Linked DNA regions of Homo sapiens: region 2 is linked to region 1. Evidence: promoter capture Hi-C in 16 types of primary human blood cells and fetal thymus (Javierre and others, 2016). All regions are on one chromosome and are shown on one strand. Each heading gives the region's core, a stretch centred on a gene start or on the middle of the fragment in contact. The rest is flanking DNA. Distances are from core to core; before and after follow the strand shown.

Region 1 (2,780 bases), core at 116-2,615:
TAGTCAGTTATTTGTGTACTGGTAACAAATCCTAAGTATTTTAATACCATAACAAGGCAGGAAGCGAATGCCATTATAAATATACACGTATCATTCTCTTTCTCTCCAGTGTGAGGCAATGTGGTAAGGCAATGGCCAACTGTAAGACAGTCTCAGATCTCTAGTCTAGATCTCTAGAAACTGCTGGGGAGAAGCACACCCTGTTTTTTATTTTACAAATCATACTAGGATACGTTCATATTGAAAGCACTTTCAAACAATAATACAATTTTAATTTAAAATACACACACACACATATATATATGAATGTTTTGACACCAGCCTCCAGAGTCATTGGGTGCCTAACATGGGACAGTAGCCAAGATACCCCTCAACCAAGTTGGAGAACTTGAGCGGTAAAATTCCCCCCAAAACCACCATCCAAGCTTGCGAGTGTCCCCCTCGAGTCCGCGGTCAGCAGGGTGCGCCGCGGGTCCCGGGCCCGGAGGCCGAGCGGGCAGCAGGGGCCACGGTGGGCCGGGGCCTCCGGAGCTGACCAGGCCGGCCGCCCCTCTCCCAGCCCTAGAGCGCGAGGCCAGCGCTGGACACCCGGCCTTCCGCCCTGGAGTCGAGCCGTGGACGGCACCGGAGCCACTGCGGGGTCGCTTCCCGGGCCACCGAATCCCGGGGCCTCCTTTCGCCCCGACGCCTGTCAAGGGCGGGTCCGGAGCGGGGACTCGTCCGGGCGCAGCGGGAGTGTGTGGCGGGGCGCGGAGCCGGTGTCCGCCCGCGAGGGGCCTTCGCCGACCCCCGGGCCCCGCCGCCTCGCGTCCCCCCGGCCCAGCCCACTCCCCGCCGCCTGCCGTCGAGGTGGCGCCACCGACCAGGGCGGGCCGCGGGCCCGGCTCACCTTGGGGCCCTCAGAGGGCACGCGCGGGTCGTTCCACGTAGTGGTGCGGCTGTTGTGGTCCACGAAGAAGGGCCAGCCGGTCTGCGGGTCGATCTTGATCTCCCATCCGGGGGGCAAAGGGTCGCGGTCACCGTTGCCGGACGCCACCTGCATCATGGGCGAGTGGGTGGCGGCGCTCATGCTGGGTTGGGGTCTGCCCGCTGGGGCGCGGGTGCGGGGCGCTGGCTCCGGGCGCCGAGTCTCTGGCCGGGCCGCCGCCGTGGGCCCCTCTCCGCCGCCGACGTGTCCGGGAAGCCGGCGCCGGGCACCTTTATGAATTAAAGGCGGGGGTGACGTGGCCAGAGAGGGGTGGAAGTGTCTGGAAATAGCCTCCTCGCTGCCAGAGGGGAAGGAGGAGATAAAGGGAGGTAGCAACTGGCCGGCTAGAAACTTCTGGTCCAGTCCAGAGAAGTTGGCCGCGGCCCGGGGTTGGATGCGGAGCTCCGCCCTGAGTCATCGGCTATAATCGCGGCGGGCGGGGCAGAGGAGCGGGGGCGGGGCCTCGGCCCGCTCGCCCCTCCCCCACCTCCTCCCGCCCCTCCCCCTTCCGACTCGTGCGCGTGCCCGGGCCGGAGTCGCCGCGGGCGGGCGCGGGCGCGGCTTCGGGGTCCGCCTGCGGGTGGGAAGCCGGACGAGCTGGACTGGGGCCGTCCTCCGTGCGCCCCGGGCGGGTTTCGGCTTTCATAGTCGCTCTCTCCCTCTCCTTTGCGCCGAGTGAGTGTTCCCGGGGCCGGAGCCCGTGCTCCCCGTGCCTGCCGCCCGTCCTTCCTGTACAAACAAAACCATCTCGCCCACCTCCACCCCCTCCCCCATATATGATAGCCGAGGACCCTGAGGGCTGTCCGGGAGGAGCGCGGGGACTCTCATCTGACACCGGAAGGAAGCCAGGGAGAAAATGGAAGTCAGTGCAAACTCACCTGCCTTCCTTTGGAAACTTCAAGAAAAAAAGAGATTGTATCAACTGATGGCTTTTAGTCTCCTAGACTAAAAAGAAAGTTTCGTTGCAGCTTTAAAGATAAATCACATTTTCTTGGGTCTGGATCTTTTTTATGGTAGAGATTGGTTCTTGCTATCTTATATCTTGACCCTGATTTGGGAAGTAAAGACCGAATAACCATGACATTTTTTGTTTGGTTTATTCAATTGCACTTGTAACCTGTCAAAGGAGAAAATTACAACACATTTAAAGATCTTTTTTGTTGTTGTTGTTGTTGATTTTCATTTTTTAACTTTTATTGTTAAAGATCTTATTTGTGATTCTAGAAATTGGGCAACATCTCCATTAAATTAGAATAAGTGCTCCCATGAGCTGAGCAGAAGAGGTTGGTTTTATAGACAGAGAAGGGCTGAAGAAAGCAGAAACAAAGAACCAAGACTGGATTGGTTGTTTCAAAATTACTTTCCTTGTAAGGAGGGGACAGAGAGACAGAATCATAGAAAAATAACTGATGAGGGCTTGCCACCATGGCTCATGCCTATAATGCCAGCACTTTGGAAAGTCAAGACTGGAGGACCTCTTGAGTCCAGGAGTTTGAGACCAGCCTGGACAACACAGTAAGACCCCCATCTCTGCATAAACAAAAAATAAGCCAGGTGCAGTGGCTTATGCCTGTAGTCCCAGCTACTCAGGAGGCTGAGGTGGGAGGCTCATTTGAGCCCAGGAGTTTGAAGCTGCCATGAGCTATGATTTTGCTCTTCATGCCAACCTAAGCGACAGAGCAAGACCCTATCTCTTTAAAAGAAAGAGAGAGAAAGAAAGAGAGAAATGATTGAGAGAAATGTAACATCAGGTTACATACTTCAGATTACTGTACAGTTGACCCTTAACATGGGTTTGAATTGAGCAGGTCCA
Region 2 (2,780 bases), core at 173-2,672, 600 kb after region 1:
TGTTTGCCCCTTAAAGTATTGCTTGCTTACTTTTCACTCAGAAAGCTCAAGGATATCTTGCATGCCTTTTCTCTGCTCCTCTATTTTTGCCACACCTGTATCAAATGCTTATCTGTATGCCTACACTTGATACTAGTTATTTATGTGTCTTCAGTTTGTGTTATTCTTACTGCTAATTTGTAGTTCTAATTCCTTGGTATTAAGTAAATGTGGTCTGTATGATTTACAAGTTTTTGGAATTTAAGAATACATTTTCCCTTGTGTTCTATGAATGTTTTTTTCTGTTGAGCACAAAGTTGTGTGTGTGCATGAAATCAGCGCTGTTTTGTTTAAATCTGCTACATCTTGTTAGTTTATGGGACTGTCTCCTTAGGAACATGAGGAAGCTTACCTTCTGAGATTATCCTTTTCTTTTAGTTAGCATTTGCAAATGTGTCTGTCCACCCTTTTGTACATTTTCAGCCTCTTGTTTCTGTTTTATGCCTCACCCCCTTGCCCACACACACCTTCCCTTTTTTTTGGGAGAGTTTAGTTTAATTTACTTGCATTTAACATGGTAACTAGTATATTTGGTTTTATTCCTAACACTTGCTTTGGAGCTTTTTATTTGCTTCTATGTCCCTGGCACCCCTTCCTTTTTCTTTAAGCCAAATTTGAAGAACTTTTCTAGGTTCTTTTTGTGTGTGTGTGTGTGTGGAGACAGTCTCGCTCTGTTGCCCAGGCTGGAGTGCAGTGGTGCAATCTCAGCTCACTGCAACCTCCGCCTCCCAGTTTCAAGCAATTCTCCTGCCTCAGCCTCCTGAGTAGCTGGGATTACTGGCGTGTGCCACCACGCCTGGCTAATGTTTGTATTTTTAGTAGAGATGGGATTTTTCACTATGTTGGCCTGGCTGGTCTTGAACTCCTGACCTCGTGGTCCACTCACCTCAGCCTCTCACAGTGCTGGGATTACAGGCGTGAGCCACTATGCCTGGCCTTTAGGTTCACTTTTATTTTCTCTATTCCATTAATTTTTTTGCCCTTTTTGCCCGGGCTGGAGTGCAATGGCGAGATCTCGGCCCACTGCAGCCTCCACCTTCCAGGTTCAAGTGATTCTCCTGCCTCAGCCTCCCAAGTAGGTGGGATTACAGGCATGTGCCACCATGCCCGGCTAATTTTGTATTTTTAGTAGAGATGAATTTAACCATGTTGGCCAGGCTGGTCTTGAACTCCTGACCTCAGGTGATCCACCCACCTCAACCTCCCAAAGTGCTGAGATTACAGGCATGAGCCACTGTGCCTGGCCACCATTAATTTTTTCCTAAGTTTTTAAAAAAACTTCCACAGTATAAATTACAACTTTCCTTTGCCTCTTCAGAACAAAACAAAATCATGACCATACCTTAACTTATATTTTATTGCAGTGGACTGGGTATTTTTGCTTCTAGATATTTACACATTATCTTTCCTCTTAGTACTCACTTAACAGTTACTTTAAGTTTTCCATCCATATTAGCGAACATTATTTAGTCTCAAGTATGTTTACACTGCATCATGTTTTCCCCTTTGTGAGTACTTTTTGTTTCTTGATCAGTAGTTTTCAGAATGTCTTTGTGTGTCTCATAAGTTTTTTCTCTCACCGTTGAACAATAAATGGTTCATTATTTGGCCAGTTCAAAATCATCTTTTCAGAAATAATAGAGACCTTTGCTTCTGTTTTTAGTACACAGTGTTACAGAGGGGAGGATTTTGGTCTTACTCTGTAGATACTGTTTCATTCCTCGGAAACAGAATTTTTCTCTATTCTTGCGGTAAAGGAAGTTAAAACTGTCCCTAAGACTGTGTTTAGATACCTGAGTGTATGGTATCTTTGTTTCTTTTTGGCCTTTTGCCCTTTTGGTCTAAGGATTCAGTCTCCTTAGAGCAGACAAAAATCTACTTAATTTAAGGAAACTTTTCTCCTTTTTCTCTGTTCTTGCTCTGTTAAAGTTCTCTTTATATCTTTAATGTTTCTTTTACTCTCTTCATCTCTTTGTTTGTTTGTACCAGGTTCTCTGAGATCGTGGTTCAGTTTGTTTGCTCATCAGCCAGGGCCATTCTGCTCTTGGATCTGCTGGGCCGGGCACATTGGTTCACGCCTATAATCTCAGCACTTTGGGAGACCGAGGCAGGCAAGCGGATCGCTTGAGCCTGGGAGCTTGAGACCAGTCTGGCAACATAGTGAGACCCTGTCTCCACAAAAAATACAAAAATGAGCTGGGCGTGGTGGTGCATGCCCAGCTACTTGGGAAACTGAGGTGGGAGGGAGTATGGCTTGAGCCCAGGAGGCAGAGTTACTTCTTTTTGTTTGTTTAATGGCTATAAGAGCCATCCTTCAAAAGTCTTTGGAGGTTGTAATAGTTGTACTATATCCTCTAAAACCTTGCATTCTTTGTTGAGTATAAATTGCAAAGCAGGCATGGGGGTGGGAGAAGCTTGGCCTTCTGGCTGTATTTGTTCCCTCAATTGTGTTGCCCATAAATTCCTTTGACTGTTATGTTTCTATTTTCTCTCAAGGTGTTTACTTGGGAAAGTCTCTTAGAACAACCCCCACCTTAAGAGACAGCCCAGAATCATTAGCTGTGATGACCCGGGACGAATTTATTTTCTGACCATTCTTGTCTTTCACTGCTTCTCATCTCTAGTTGTTATTTTAGAGTTTCATTGCCAAGACATTTTTTTCAAAAATTCAAATAAAGGGGCAGGCGTGGTGGCTCACACCTATAATCTCAGAACTTTGGGAAGCCTAGGCAGGTGGATCA

Evidence for each region. The method cuts DNA at HindIII sites, captures the fragments that hold promoters and counts their contacts. A CHiCAGO score of 5 or more calls a contact.
Region 2: a fragment that was not itself captured here is called in contact with the fragment with the promoter of BAG3 in region 1 in 1 of 17 cell types (naive CD8 T cells); the score reaches 5.9 in naive CD8 T cells.

What each region holds. Positions count from the first base shown.
Region 1 is chr10:119,649,965-119,652,744 of GRCh38, reverse strand. BAG3 (BAG cochaperone 3) reads right to left here and starts at 1,365. Exons shown (of 4, transcript NM_004281.4): 1 at 890-1,365. The coding sequence starts at 1,069. RefSeq lists a silencer at 1,313-1,612 and enhancers at 1,813-1,892, 1,273-2,227. The HindIII fragment of the contact is 5,264 bases long and covers 428-2,780 here.
Region 2 is chr10:119,045,182-119,047,961 of GRCh38, reverse strand. The region is part of intron 17 of EIF3A (eukaryotic translation initiation factor 3 subunit A); the gene reads left to right. Among named protein-coding and RNA genes, the nearest start is that of SNORA19, 14 kb to the left of the region's middle. The HindIII fragment of the contact is 2,067 bases long and covers 389-2,455 here.